Regions from separate parts of the Homo sapiens genome. Here region 2 is linked to region 1. The links are contacts of gene promoters, found by promoter capture Hi-C in human tissues and cell types (Jung and others, 2019). All regions are on one chromosome and are shown on one strand. Each heading gives the region's core, a stretch centred on a gene start or on the middle of the fragment in contact. The rest is flanking DNA. Distances are from core to core; before and after follow the strand shown. Region 1 holds the start of WDR4 (WDR4 tRNA N7-guanosine methyltransferase non-catalytic subunit). Region 2 holds the start of LOC101928212 (a long non-coding RNA gene).

Evidence for each region. Contacts are between HindIII fragments. The study calls those that stand out against the background at their distance.
Region 2: a contact is called between a fragment that was not itself captured here and the fragment with the promoter of WDR4 in region 1, in 2 of the 25 tissues and cell types used here (lymphoblastoid cells and spleen).

The regions. Positions count from the first base shown.
Region 1 is chr21:42,877,164-42,884,592 of GRCh38, reverse strand. It overlaps WDR4 (WDR4 tRNA N7-guanosine methyltransferase non-catalytic subunit), which reads left to right and starts at 5,054. Exons shown (of 11, transcript NM_018669.6): 1 at 5,054-5,186. The coding sequence starts at 5,098. LOC105372817 (a long non-coding RNA gene) reads right to left here and starts at 4,881. Exons shown (of 4, transcript XR_937765.3): 1 at 4,838-4,881; 2 at 798-987. RefSeq lists enhancers at 4,802-5,151, 5,222-5,331, 5,362-5,411, 5,064-6,028, 6,029-6,992. The HindIII fragment of the contact is 11,595 bases long and covers 1-7,429 here.
Region 2 is chr21:42,571,221-42,578,961 of GRCh38, reverse strand. SLC37A1 (solute carrier family 37 member 1) reads right to left here. Exons shown (of 20, transcript NM_001320537.2): 18 at 4,047-4,144. LOC101928212 (a long non-coding RNA gene) reads left to right here and starts at 5,152. Exons shown (of 2, transcript NR_171773.1): 1 at 5,152-5,245; 2 at 5,363-5,878. RefSeq lists an enhancer at 6,497-7,240. The HindIII fragment of the contact is 5,386 bases long and covers 3,720-7,741 here.

The sequences.
Region 1 (7,429 bases), core at 3,805-6,304:
TCACTGCAACCTCTGCCTCCCGGGTTCAAGTGATTCTCCTGCCTCAGCCTCCTGAGTAGCTGGGATTACAGGTACGCAACACCACGACCAGCTAATTTTTGTATTTTTAGTAGAAGTGGGGTTTCACAATGTTGGTCAGGCTGATTTCGAACTCCTGACCTTGTGATCCACCCACCTCGGCCTCCCAAAGTGCTGGGATTACAGGTGTGATCCATCACCCAGGCTGGAGTGCAGTGGCGCAATCTCAGCTCATTGCAACCTCTACCTCCCAGGTTCAATCCACCACACCTGGCCAGTTCCTGAAAAGTTTAAATGTTACCATATGACTCAACAATTCCATTCCCAGTGGAATGTTCACAACACCATTATTCATTATAGCCAAAAGGTGGGAAATCCCAAACTGCCTATCAACCAATGAGCAGATAAACAAAATGTGATATATGTGATATATGCATTCAGTGGAATATTATTCGGCCATGAAAAGCAGTGAAGTACTGATACATGCTACAATATCCATGAACCTTGGAAACCTAATATTCAGTGACAGAAGCCAGATTATATGAAATGTCCAGACTAGCAAAATCCATAAAACAAAGTAGATTAATGGTTACCAGGGGTTTATGGGGAGGGTGAAAGGGGGAGTGACTGCTACTGGGTTTAAGATTTATTTTGTGGGTGATGAAAATGTTCTAAAATTGTGGTGATGGATGCACAATTCTGTATATATACTAAAACCCACTGAAATGTACACATTACCACATATCAGGTGGATTACAACAGTAAGAATTTATTCTCACAGTTCTGGAGGCCAGAAGTCTGAAGTCAGGGTGTTGGCTGGGCCACGCTCCTTCTGAAAGGTCTAGGGGAGAATTCTTCCTCATCTTTCTCTTGGCTTCTGGTGTTGCCAGCAATCCTTGAATTATGGCCACATAACTTCAATCTCTGTTTCTGTCTTCATCTGGCATTCTCCTCTGTCTTCTCCCTTCTCTTCTCAGTACACATAACATTCGATTTAGGGTCCACCCAAATCCAGGATGCTCTCATTTTGCAATCCTTAACTTAATCACATTAGAAAAGACCCTTTCCCCAAAAAAGGTCACATCCCCAGTTTCCAGGGGTGGACATACATTTTAGGGGGCCACCTTTCAACCCACTACAACCACCATGAAATTAATGGGTCTTTGTCCATTTTTGTTTTTACACAATTTTTTTTTTAACTGAAGGACCATAAGACAATGCTTATGTCGTCTTGCCAGTTTGTAAAAAAAAAAAAAAAAAGGGTAACTTCTTGCCCATTTTTCTTTTTTTTTTTTTTTTTGAGACAGAGTCTCACTCTGTTACTCGGGTTGGAGTGCAGTGGCGCAATCTCGGCTCACTGCAATCTCCACCTCCTCGGTTCAAGTGATTCTCGTACCTCAGCCTCCTGAGTATCTGGGACTACAGGCACGCACCACCACTCCCAGCTGATTTTTCTATTTTTTTTTTTTTTTTTTTGAGACGGAGTCTTGCTCCGTCACCCAGGCTGGAGTGCAGTGGCATGATCTCGGCTTATTGCAACCTCCACCTCCCACGTTCAAGCGGTTGTCCTGCCTCAGCCTCCCAAGTAGCTGGGACTACAGGCGTCCGCCACCATGCCCGGCTAATTTTTGTATTTTTAGTACAGACGGGGTTTCACTATGTTGGCCAGGCTGGTCTCAAACTCCTGACCTCAGATGATCCACCTGCCTTGGCCTCTCAAAGTGCTGGGATTACAGGCGTTAGCCACTGCGCCCAGCCTGATTTTTGTATTTTTAGTAGAGATGGGGTTTCCCCATGTTGGCCAGGCTGGTCTCAAACTTCTGACCTCAATTGATTCTCCTACCTTGGCCTCCCAAAGTGCTGGGATTACAGGTGTGAGTCACCGTGCCTGGCCTTTTTGCCCATTTTTCTATTGTGCTAATGGAAGGATTCTCAGGTTCCTAATACCTTTTGCTCAGGACAGGACTAGAAATACAACACAACAATCCATAAGTTTTTTTTTTCTTTTTTCTGAGATGGAGTTTCACCCTTGTTGCCCAGGCTGGAATGCAATGGGTGATCTTGGCTCACTGTAACCTCCACCTCCTGGGTTCTAGTGATTCTCCTGCCTCAGCCTTCTGAGTAGCTGGGATTACAGGTGCATGCCACCAAGCCCAGCTAATTTTTGTATTTTTAGTAGAGATGGGGTTTCACCGTGTTGGCCAGGCTGGTCTCAAACTCCTGACCTCAGGTGATCTGCTCGCCTTGGCCTCCTAAAGTGTTGGGATTACAGGTGTGAGCCACTGCACCCGGCCAATCCATAAGTTTCTTAATTGAAAAAGAAAGCCCACACTCACTCTAGGCTAATGTAATCAATGATTTATAAAAATGGCCATAGTTGGGCCGGGTGCAGTGGCTCACGCCTGTAATCCCAACACTTTGGGAGGCCGAGGCGGGCAGATCACCTGAGGTCAGGAGTTTGAGACCAGCCTGACTAACATGGATCATGGATCACGCCTGTAATCCCAGCACTTTGGGAGGCCAAGGTAGGAGAATCAATTGAGGTCAGGAGTTTGAGACCAGCCTGGCCAACATGGTGAAACCCCGTCTCTACTAAAAATACAAAATTAGCTGGGCACGGTGGCACATGCCTGTAATTCCAGCTACTTGGGAGGCTGATGCAGAATCGCTTGAACCCGGGAGGCAGAGGTTTTGGTGAGCGGAGATCACGCCATTGCACTCCAGCCTGGGCAACAAGAGTGAAACTCCGCCTCAAAAAAAAAGAAAAAAAGAAAGCCATAGTTTTTATGAGCTTGTTGATCTATATCTAGGACTACAAGGAAGATATGCATGCTACAGACATTTGTACCTAGCAGTAGGTGCTACTGTAACATGTGGCATTAGCTTTGGACTAGAAGTCTGGAAAAGCAGTGGGGAAACTGGTAGTGAACACTGGAACAATGGTGAGGAAAACTACGGGAGGTGGACAAATGGTGAACAACTCTATGTCACGGTGAAGGATTTGTAAAATTGTTGCCCTTCAGTAAGATGGGCAGAGAAAAAGGCAACTACTGAACTCTGGGACTTGAAAAAGATCATATCAGTATAATGTTGAGATTAACCTGTGTTTCTTTTGCTTGAATATGTTGAGACACTTATAGAAAAGAGTGTGGTTAAAAACAAACAAACAAACAAACTGGCCAGCAGAATTTAGAGCACACTTTGGGTTGAAGCTGGGGAAAGTATTATTAGACCCAATAGTTGGTAACAAGTTCTCAAAGTAAGTCATAACCTGGGCCAAAGATCAAATTCAGAGTGGCGCTAATAAAATATGGCCTTAAGAATAATGCTGAAGTCAAGGTGATCTCAATGATTTAAATGTTAACAAGTGGCTGGGCGCGGTGGCTCACGCCTGTAATCCCAGCACTTTGGGAGGCCGAGGCAGGCGGATCACAAGGTCAGGAGATCCAGAACATCCTGGCTAACATGGTGAAACCCCGTCTCCACTGAAAAATACAAAAAATTAGCCAGGCGTGGTGGCGGGCGCCTGTAGTCCCAGCTACTCAGGAGGCTGAGGCAGGAGAATGGCGTGAACTCGGGAGGTGGAGGTTGCACTTCAGCCTGGGCGACAGAGCGAGACTCCGTCTAAAAAAAAAAAAAAGACTAGTGGGAGTGGCTTCTTGGGCATGGAGAGCACCTGAATCAGATTCTTGAGAAGCCCATAAAGCTTTTAAGGGACTTGTAGTGAACAAAGCACCACCAGCTGCCAAAATGTGGACAGAACAGTTTAGAGTGAAAAAAGGTCTGTGGGCTCACAATTTGCTAATGACAGGAAGGAGGTTGAGAAAGTTTCTCAAAGGGCACATTCTTCAACATGGCCAAGAAGGTGCTGGAAAAGGAGGGACACCCAAGAGGGCAGAGGCAAGAGCTGTGCTGAGATACAGCCTGGGGAGATACTCCCAGGAAGCAGAACTCGGGCCTGGTTAAGACTTCTTATTCTTGTAGGGCCTGAAAACATCTTCCAGTAGGATTTCAGAATTGCTTTGGACCAGTGATTACTGTGTCTCCTCCTCTTCTCATTTTCACATGCAAGTATTTATTGTGGTTATCTGGTCCCGGCTCACCATCATATATTGCGTGCACGGGAGAGAAAATTAATCTTTTTAGTTTGTAAGTCTCTGGATCAAGAGGAGCTGCACCGGACAAGCCAATCTAAAACAGACCGTGAGATCCTAGATTTTGTGCCTGATGCTGGGATTGTAAGAGGCTTTTGGGGATCTTGGGATGAACACTGGAAACTAACCATAGTTTGGGTTGAAAATATCACTACAGTTCGGAGATTTTAAGGCATCTGTGGCTTGTCTAAGTGCAAAGATTCAGTAGGCTTACTTCTAGCGACCTCAGACTTGACGCCACCCGAGACACCCTCACCCATGACCACATCTTGGACATTTTTTTTTTTTTTGAGAGAGAGTCTCGCTCTGTCGCCCTGGCTGGAGTGCAGCGGGGGCGATCTCGACTCACTGCAACCTCCGCCTCCCGGGTTCAGGCAATTCTTCTGTCTCAGCCTCCCAAGTAGTTGGGGCTACAGTCGCACGCCACCACGCCCAACAAATTTTTGTACTTTTAGTAGAAACGGGGTTTCACCATATTGGTCAGGCTGCTCTCGAACTGCTGACTTCATGTGAGCCACGGCCCCCGGTTCATTCACTTCTTGAAGGATCATTTACCAGGCATCTAGTAGCCATCATCAGGTCCTACGTCTCTCCAGCTACCGCGGAAAAAGATCCAGAACCAGCCCTACCCCGTCTAGAGGAAAGGATGAACATTAGGCAAGTACTTGGAATCGTGCGAAGTGCACTCCATCAGATCACCTTGGTGAGTGAACTGCCAAACCCGAAACACCGAAGGCCACCAGCCACAACCCGGAGGGCGGTCACAGCACCTTTCACGCATGCTCAAGGCAGGCTCGTCCTTGAGCATGCGCGGTACGTGGGGTATACGTCATCTCTCGGCGTCTGCGCCTGGCGTCACCGACCGGTGCGGACAGGAAGAGGCTCTGGGCTGGCACATGTGTATGGCGGTGAGGCGGGCGGGTACATGGCGGGCTCTGTGGGACTGGCGTTGTGCGGGCAGACGTTGGTGGTGCGGGGCGGCAGCCGATTCCTGGCCACCTCCATAGCAAGCAGGTGAGGGGGCCTTGGTCTTGGAACAGGGAGACCAGGCTGCGGGCGCGCGTCGGGTCCTGGCGACCCCGCTTCTCCCGCACCGCCTGGTCGCACCCACTCTGGGGTGACCCCGGGGAACTCCGCTCCAGCCCACGAGTCCTCCGCCGCAGTCTCGGCCTGGCCGCGTCTCTGCGCCTGGAGGGTCCGCTTTCGCCGTCCGCTCTCGGCGTCCGCTCCCCGGCTCCGGCGCGCTCCTTGCACTAGATGGCTGGTCTGCGGTGTTCTTGCCCGGTTAGCGCCGCCGGGTCGCTTCCGGTCTCCGCGGCGCCGGCGGGGACCGGGTAGGTAGAGCACGTGGGGCGACGCTGACCAGTCAGCAAGGCCCGGCCGAACACGCTCTGCAGAACTGGGAAGAAGCGGGTCTCGGGTCTCCCTGGTGAGAAGGGAGGGGCTTACTCACTGCGAGCTCACTGACCTCCAAGCGCGCTCCCTCTTTTTGCAGGGTTGTCTGTTCCCTCTTCCCGGCCTGCATCCACTCACCTGGCCTTAATTGCTCCTTAGGGCTCCAAGTCATCTCCGACACTTACCCAACCCAAGGGTGCACGTGGAGCTCGCAGTGCGCACCTCCCTAGTGGCCCTTCGCACGGCTCGGGTTTTGCTTTCCGTAATTTTATTCTCCTTCCTTAGTGTATCGCCAGTGCTAGGACGACGCAGGGGATTTTTAACTTAGTAAATGTTTGTTGATGGAACAGTCCTAACTCAGGACTCTCGGAGCAATTAGTAGTGCTGTCAGTTTCAGCCCCTCGTTTCCTTTCCCAGGTTATTTGTGATTTCATATTTGAAACGGACGACGTGTCTGTCAGATATACTGTATATTTTTTGTTCGTTTGGTTTTAGAAAGCCAATTCGATGTTAAGTTAGGTCTCACAAAAATTGTACTCAGAAACCCGTCACATATCCCAGATGATTTTGTTTTAGAGACTCACGGTCTAATATCTGCCAGAGTGAGCTGTGGATATATTAGACATGATTTGCTTACCTTCAGTCTTTGCATTTTGAGGAAATTCTAGTGGCTGGTGGAGTTTCTGACTTGGAAGACAAGTCCACGGTTCCATATGGAAAGTTTTTTGGTGCACTCGCTTTAAAGGCTATAAATATGTACAAGATACGTGCCAGGGGGTGAGGATGGGATAAACCGAAGTTTAGGTTCAGTATGGAAAATGGGTGATTCTTATGTTGGTAAGTGCCTGGGGTCATGGGAACACTTTCAGGTAGGTGAGATATGTTTCTAAATAGTAATGGCTCTTTGAAATTTGTATACAGAATCCCACTGAACGCTCAACAGTATCAGAACATAATTTCTTTTTTTTCTTTTTTTTTTTTTTTGAGGAGTCTCGCTTTGTCGCCCAGGCTGGAGTGCAGTGGCGCGATCTTGGCTCACTGCAAGCTCCGCCTCCCGGGTTCACGCCATTCTCCTGCCTCAGCCTCCCGAGTAGTTGGGACTGCAGGCGCCTGCCACCATGCCTGGCTAATTTTTTATATTTTTAGTGGAGATGGGGGTTTCACTGTGTTAGCCAGGCTGGTCTCGATCTCCTGACCTCGTGATCCGCCCATCTCGGCCTCCCAAAGTGCTGGGATTACAGGCGTGAACCACCGCGCCCGGCCCGTAATTTCTTATAACCATGTCGCATAGATTTTGTGGTGCCTAAAAGAATAGCATATTAATTCCTGTTGAGTATTTATCCCTCATTTGTTTTACTGAACTTTTTTTTCCCACAGAACTATGCAGTATGACGTACTCCAATAAGAGATTAAGCAAATAAAGTTTGTTAACTGTTCCCTGAAATATTGTATCTAGACAGTTTTCTTGTCAAGTATACAACTTTTAATTTAATGAGTGTGCAAATATTTTTTGTTCCACAGAGAAAAAAAATCAACTTTTTTTTTTTTTTTTTAACAAAGTGCTCTTTTAAAAATCATTGTTAGGCTGGGCGCAGTGGCTCTGCCTATAATCTCAGCACTTTGGGAGGCTGAGGCGGGCAGATCATCTGAGGTCAGGAGCTTGAGACCAGCCTGGCCAACATGGCGAAACCCCGTCTCTACCAAAACTACAAAAATTAGCCAGGCGTGGTGGCAGATACCTGTAATTCCAGCTACCGGGAAGGCTGAGGCGGGAGAATTGCTTGAATCCAGGAGGGGGAGGTTGCAGTGACCTGAGATCATGCCCTTGCACTCCAGCCTGAGTGATAGAGCGAGACTCCAAC
Region 2 (7,741 bases), core at 5,163-7,662, 310 kb after region 1:
AGCAGATGCCCTCAGACCCAGGGTGGATCACTGGTCCAGGGGAGGCAGGGAAGGGGTGCTGGAGGGTCTCGAGGGGCTACTTAAAAACCAAACACATGGCCCCACCACCAAGCCTCAGGCCAGAGCTCTAGAAGGCAGAAACTCTTCTATTTTCTTAGGTGCTTGTGGTTCAAGTAGGAGCTTAGGAGTCCCTTGTATGAGGTGAGTTCAAGCTGGAGAGAACAGGGGCCCCTCCTACAGATAAGATGCATCCAGCTGCTCTGCTTGGTGCATGAAAGGTGTTTGCGACAATTAGGTGGTAAAGGTCGTGGGAACACGGCAGGTACGAACAATAGTGCTGGTGACAATAGCAAGATTTTTGTTAAATAAATCCATCTGTGTGAATCTGAACCTCTAGCTCCAACTACCGGCACAGGCTTATTGTGTTTGAGCTGGTACCTTACCCACATCTACATCCTGCCAAGTGTGATGTATGAAAAGTGCTAGCCCGAAGAGGCCTATGATTATGAAAAGCTGATCATTAAGAGAGAAAAAGATGAAGAATATAGTAGCAAGTGTTATCTGTGGGTACGGGATGAACTGTAAATGGTGACAGTTCTGAAGAACAGAGATCCAATTTCAAAACATGCCCACGTGTTTGGCTCACGCATGCAAGAATGACCAACAAGGAGGGGCCCTACCAACTCCAGGAGCCCAGGCGACACGCACTGGAGACCTGAGGCCTTCGGTCGTGCGCCAGGCAGTCCTGCAGGCCCTGGAGCTGGCCATCAGTGTGTGTTGTGAGGCAGGAAGCATGGTGCCCTCTGGCCCCCCAGGACACCTGCTCAGATCATGGAGGTTCTCAGCTCCAGACTCGGGAGGAAACACTTGTCTATTTTGGTGAAAAGATACCAAAAAGCATGTTGATCAGTGAAGAGAAAAAGGTATGTCTAGTTCTTAGGTTTGAAAAGCCCAACTCAAGCTCACGGACCTGCTGCACATCCTGGTATAGTTCCTTCTCCACTGCGACAAGCCCCCGTCTCCCAAGTGCTTCAGCTTTAGGTCTCTTTCTTCCAACGCAGCAAATCCGGCTTCCTCTGGTTATTATTTACCTGTCGTGTAGTTTCCCATTCTTTTACTTTTGTCTTTTCGGAATTCCAGTGTAGCAGGTGTGTTTCTTGTAAATAACCAGTGCCTGTATTTTTAAAAGCAACCTGACAATCTCTGCTCCTAACTGATGAGTTTAAGTCCATTTATTGTCACTGTGTTGCTGGCATGCTGGGATCATTTTCATCCATGTTGCTCTGTATTTCTGTATTTACCCTGTTTTTTTCTATGCTTCCCCTGACCCTAGGTTCTCTTAGATTAAGTCTTCATTTCCCTGTATTGCCTTGAAGGTTACACATTCTATTGCTATTGGCTTGACAACATAAGAACTGCAGTGTACTGGAACTCTCATTGTCCCACTTGTACCTTACATTTTCAGTATTTCAGTTCTTTTTTATATTGCCCAAATTAGTCATTATTGCTGTTGTTTTAAACTGAGAGTCAGAAAGCTTTTTCTGTAAAGGTCTAGATAGTAAATATTTCAGGCTTTGCAGCCATATGGTTTCTGTTGCACATTCTTTTGTTGATTTTTTAAAGACATATTTAAAAATATAAACCATTCCCAGCTGGAGGATCACACAAAAATAGGCCACAGTTAGCTGGCCCCTATTTTATATGGTCAATACTCCTTTAGATTCATCCTTAGGAATATCACTTTTTTTTTGCTTGCATTTCTCCTTGCATCTCAGACTTTCCTTCTGGATCTATCTTCCTTCTCTAAATACATTGTTTAGCAATTTTTGCTGGGAGCATCTTTGGTTAAAAATGTTTTCACTTCACCCTTACTCTTGTGTGCAAGTTTATCTAGGTACAGAATTCTAAGTCATTTGATTCCTGAATCTAAGAATGTTTGTCTTTCATGTATCTGGAAAATTCTCAGCTATTTTGTCTTAAAATATTGCTTCAAATCCAGTCTATCATCTTCCTCTGGAATTACTTTCAGATAACTTTAGGCCATCTCATTTGGTCCTCCATTTTATATTTAATTTCTCTCTAATATTTTCCATCTCTCTTTTTGTGCTGAATTCTGGATAATTTCTTCATATCTATATTTCACTTCAGTAATCTTCTCTTCAGCGGTATCTAATTTGCTTTTCTAACCCATCCATTGAGTCTTTTTCCAGGCTAAAGATCACATTTTTCATTTCTATAACTCCTGTTTGGTTGTTTTTGAAGCCTGCTCTGTCTTTTCAATAGTGTCTTGTTCTTTTTTTCATGAGGTCAGTTCCTTTTTCTTATGTCATTAGTAACATTGCATATATTTATTTTTAGTTTACATAACTCTTTTATCTGCAGTTTTGGGGGAGTCCAATTCCACCATTTTTTATGTCTGTTACTGTCATTCAATGTGGATTGCTTCCTTATGTTTCATTATTTTGGATTGTGAGCTCATCTTTTGTAGGGTGTTAGCTACAGAAATCCTATGCTGCAGGGTTGAGATTTGTCCCTATTTGCTTCTGTATTACTGCCTAAGGACCAACTTTGCTCATTTAAAATATATTTATATAAGCTCAAAGATTAAAGCTGACTGTGGGGAGGTCTATGGCTAAAAATTTTCAAGGGAGATTTCTTCCCCCTAATCTGGCTAAGATGGGCAGATTCCCATTGTCTTCCTGTGCCAGTGTGCAGATATCATCTAGTATACTCTTTCACTGCAAGCATGGCTCTTCGAGGGTCCTGGCTCTATGACGAAGTCTCCAGTTCCAAATCTTCATCTTGTGCCAGCCTAACGCCTTGTCTCTTACCCAGTGTGGGCACAACCACCCCAACCCGTTGATTCCTGAGCTTGTGTATTTATATTGCCTTTACAATTCTGGCTCCTGGGGAGTTCCTTTACTTTCTTATGAGTTTGGCTAAGCATCAAAACAATTTTCAATATATATTACCAGATAGTTCTAAAGAAGATATTTCAGATTCTCTGAACAGTTGTAATGACAGGAATTTTACTGCTACTTAGTGGAAATCCATCTGGAGGCTTCATTAGAACATTCAGGCATTAAAAGAACCCACAGATGATCCAAAGAACAGCCATTTAAACCTAGTAAGTTCATAGGTTGAGAGTCGGTATTTGATTTTGTATGTGGTGGGGAAGTTGAGTTTTAGAATTTCCTGGAATTAAAATATAAGACTTTCATTTAATTGAGTGAGTTGATATTTCTGAAATTCTCAACTCATTTTTATTGGGATCAGCCTAAGGTTTTGTCTGGTGAAGTGAGAGGAGAGGCATGGCTGTGGGTCTGGGGACTTTGTGGCCAGGTGACTTGTAAAGATGTGTATGCACCCCTCACAGCTGCACATCTATGTGACTGTGACATCATCACTGGTCTTCCTTACCCAGGGGAAAACCTCAAACTTTCTCAACACAGGAGGGCACAGAAGCAGGAGCCCAGAGAAAAGGGGGCAGAAGCCAGAAGGCGACTCAGTGTCTGCACTGGCAACCTCTTTGCTCCTTTATTCTCTCCCATCCCTTCAGGTGAAAGAAGTTGGGGCCGCTCCCGCCGTCTGACAGCATGGCTGCAGGAGGGACACCAGGACACTGATGACCACTGGGAGGCCAGGCTCTGTGTATCATCTGCTTTAATTCCCACAACAATCTTGTCACTGGGTGCCATTATCATGCCCATTTTAAAGCTGTGGAAACTGTGGAGCAGAGGTTACGAAACCTGCCCAAGTCACACACATGACAGGTGACAGGCAGGATCTAGAGCCACGGAGCTCCACGCTCCTGGCCTTTGTGCTATCCCGCCCAAGGCTGCAGAGCAAGACTGTCCTGCTTCTGTTTCTGACTTTTTCTAATCAGAGAGAGAAGGAGCTTTAGACCACGCATATTTAGAAAAGATGGGAAGACCCAAACCTCTCTGATAACTCAGGAATGCATGGGAGAAAGTTCCACCAGTGTTTGGACACAACCACAGAGATCTGCATTCAAGGTGGATTGGACTAAAAATAGGCCGACTTACCAGTAAGGCACAGGCATCTGCAAACATCAGCATGTAAAACACATTGCTCCAGCCGGACGGGGAGAGGAGCCCAGCCAGCAGGGGGCCCAGGGCTGCTCCTGAAATCAGGCAAATGGACACACATGGTGCTGTTTAGAGAAAATCCCAGCACATAACTAGCAGCCACAGAGAATGGGGCTCAACACCTCACTCACAATGAAAGGAACACATATGGAACTACACTACCTCATCCTGGCCTATCAGATTGGGAGCGGGTACAAGGCCTAGTATAGGTTGAGCCTTCCAAATCTGAAAACCTGAAATCCAAAATCTCCAGAATTTGTAACTTTTTGAGTGCTGACACTCAAAGGAAATGCTCACTGGGGCATTTCAGAATTGGGATTTGAGATGCTCAACCAGTGTAATGCAAATATCCCACAATCTGAAAAAATAAAAAGACATAACCACTTCTGGTCCCAAGTACTTCAGATAAGGATACTCCACCTGTACGCCTCCGTACTGGGAAGGCAGAGCTGGCACAGCCTTTTCCCAGAACCATCCTAAAAATGTGTGTTGACATTGCAATGTTCATTCTTTTCATCCAACACTCCCATTATTTTCTTGAGTACACGTAAGGAAATCTGAATTCAATGCACAATCTTAGATATTCTTATGCTATAAAAATGTAACTGGGTAAAATTTGAATAAGAATTGTAGATACTAATATTCTTTCAATGCTCACTTTCTGATTCTGATCATGCACTGTGGTCTGTCATGGAACTCCTTGTTTTTAGGAAGTACATGCTGAATAGTTACGAGGAAAGGGGCAGCATGTGTGCATCTTACTCTTAAGTGGTTCAGAAAAATTATGCATGTGTGTGTGCATATATGTGTGTGTGCATGTGTGTGTGTAAAAACACGGGTGCATGATGAACCACATGTACTAAAATGTCTGAATTCTTTGTACTATTTCTGCAACTTTCTCAAAGTCTGAAATTATGTCAAGATGTGTTTTTAAATGATGAAAACAAATAACGTATCCCCCTAAATGCCCAAGGACTGCTGTTTAAGAATGTGTTTTGTAGCATCTGGTGCATTTTACCAAGAGGGACTGAAATGAATTCTGATACACATGTAGGATGGCCTGTTTTGGTAGATGCATGGGAAAAAGCATGAAGAATTTCCACCAACCTATGAACTGACATATTCAACTCTGAGAGGTAAGATAACCAGGGTCTTTCATGCCCTAGGCACTTGTTTTTTTCAAGTGTTCACAAAGTGCACTTACTATTTTATAATCCCAGGAGCAATTGTATGTTTTTTTTTTTAATTCTCAGAACTTCCAGGTAAACATGGTCGGCTACTCATGTGTTATCTCCACACCCCCAAGCAACATGAACTGCGCCATCACTGACTTCTAAAGATGATAAATCCTCCCACCGAAGGGCACGTAGTTTTGGAAGATGGACACAGAAGGGCTGACAGCTAACACAGCCTCCAGTGTTCCCTGCTCCACTGAGCATCCTCAGAGGGAGACAGCACAGGGACACCTGGAGCAGAGCGAGGCCCAGCGGAGCCCAAGAGACAGGGGAGGGGAAGGCAAGGAAGGAGGAACGCAGTGGGAACGGAAGGGGGTCAGCAAGAGAAAAAAGGTGCATGGGTTGAGTCTTTTATCACAAACTGTTAGCTACATTCCCTCTGCCGCACCTCGGATCCCAGGTCTCTTTTCTCATCCTCACTGATAAAGAGACTCCTCCTGATGCCCCCGTGCAGGACAGCGCAGCTTAACCCGTGGGGACACTAAGCCCAGTGCAGGACAGGGATGCTCACCTAACAGGCGACAGGGGATCTGGGGAAAGACACCAGCTTCCACCAAGCTTCCATGCCATGGCAAGGATGTTGGCAGCTGGACCCAGGCTCCCCTGGGCACTGAAGGAGTCTCCTCCTGCAGGTTCCGCAGGGTCCCACTGCCTGGAGACCAGCAGCCAGCACACTGTCCCCACAGAGAGACTTCAAACCACTATGCAGGGCCCCTTCTTCCATGGGAAGTGATGAAGGGGCAACCTAGGTCTGCCCTGTGTCTGGGGAACACCCCAACGTGAAAGCAAGCAAGCTGGCAGGAGGGAGCCTGGAGGAGAAGAACATTCCCAGAGCTCACAGCACCCACAGAGAGCCAACAGAAGACTAAGTTGAACCTCCCCCCAGAGAGCCAACAGAAGACTAAGCTGAACCTCAGGACACACTCTTTTTTTTTTTTTTGTGTGTGTGTGGCTGAAAACCTGTTATCAATTTCACATGATTCAGTCTAACATGAAATAAAACAGGATGCACTGAAAGGGCAGAGAAACATCAGTAAACATTGAAAATATGGCAGGAAAAGTAAAATGGTCGATACAAAGTTGGAAAATACAGTCAAGAATCTCCCTGAGAAAGTGTAAGAAAGAACAGGGAGACAGGCAGGAAGGGAAAGAAAGAAAGGAAAGTTGAAGGATTAATCCAGAAAAGCCTACATCTGACTAATACATTTTCCAGAAAGAAAAAACAAATCAGAAAATGGTAGGAAAACTTATCAAACGAACAGGGGCCCAATTCCCCTAAAGTGAAGGGCAGGTGTTTCCAGACTGAAGGTGCCACCAGGTGCCCCAGGACGGTGGATGAAGAAAGGCTCCCGGGGTAAGGAAGGGAACCTGGAGATCTAAGAGAAAAAAGAGAAGGTCAGAAAGCAAGGGCTGGGGTCAGAATGTCTGTGAACGTGTCAGTGACAGCAATGGAGGCTGGAAGACGGGGGTTCTGAAGAGAAGGTGTTTCCACGTCCACATTGCCTCAGGCGAGAGCAGAATCCAGCCATCACGCACTTGTAAGCTTGCAGAACCCACCTCCCCTAACTCAGGAAGCTGCTAGGAGCCAGTTTCCACCACAGGAGTGGTAAACAGGGGTCTAGACTGCTAGGGCTGTGTCGCAGGCAAGAGAGGAGGGGGACTCCCAGCACCGTGGTGACAGGTGCTCTGGGGCCAAGCCGCGCAGTGGGCGGAGTGAGGCTGATGGCGTGAAAGGGGTGGGGCAGGGCAGGATGGCGACCACGGTGCAGGGAAGGAAGAACTTTGTCGGAAATGTGAAAAAGAGGAAAAGAGATGTTTACTTACCCGGGAAAAAACAAGATGTATCTATTGAGGGTGCATAATTAAAGTTTGTTTCTTGGCTGGAAAGTGAAGGGCAGAAGCATGGCTGGTATAACTGAGGAGGAGGAGGGGTGGGCAATGTCGGGGTGGAAGGGAGCCAGGTCCCCTCTTCCGTAAGAGGAGCACAGCTGATGACGTTCAGATGATGAACCAAGAAACATGGAAATACGTAGGTAAGCAGAGAGAGGCAGCTGAAATTGGCTGCCTCTAGAAAGAGAGGGCTGGGGAGGGGGACGGAACGCCGCTGTACAACATAATAAGCTTGTAGGACTGTCTAGCTTCTAAGGTACATTATGTTTTACTTTAATAAATAAAAATTAACTTGAAGAAAAATGCAGTGCCCTATTTAATTGCTCTGCATGAAATGTACAGAAACGGCAACCTCTGCGATTCTAAGCACTGTGAACGCCCCAGGCGCACACCGTGTCAACAAACCGTGTGGCACTTGGGAGAAGGCAGGGGTGATTTACGATTAGTCATGTTTCGCCTCCACCCGAGTCACTGCCAAGGAGTGGACAGTGACACTGAATAAGCATG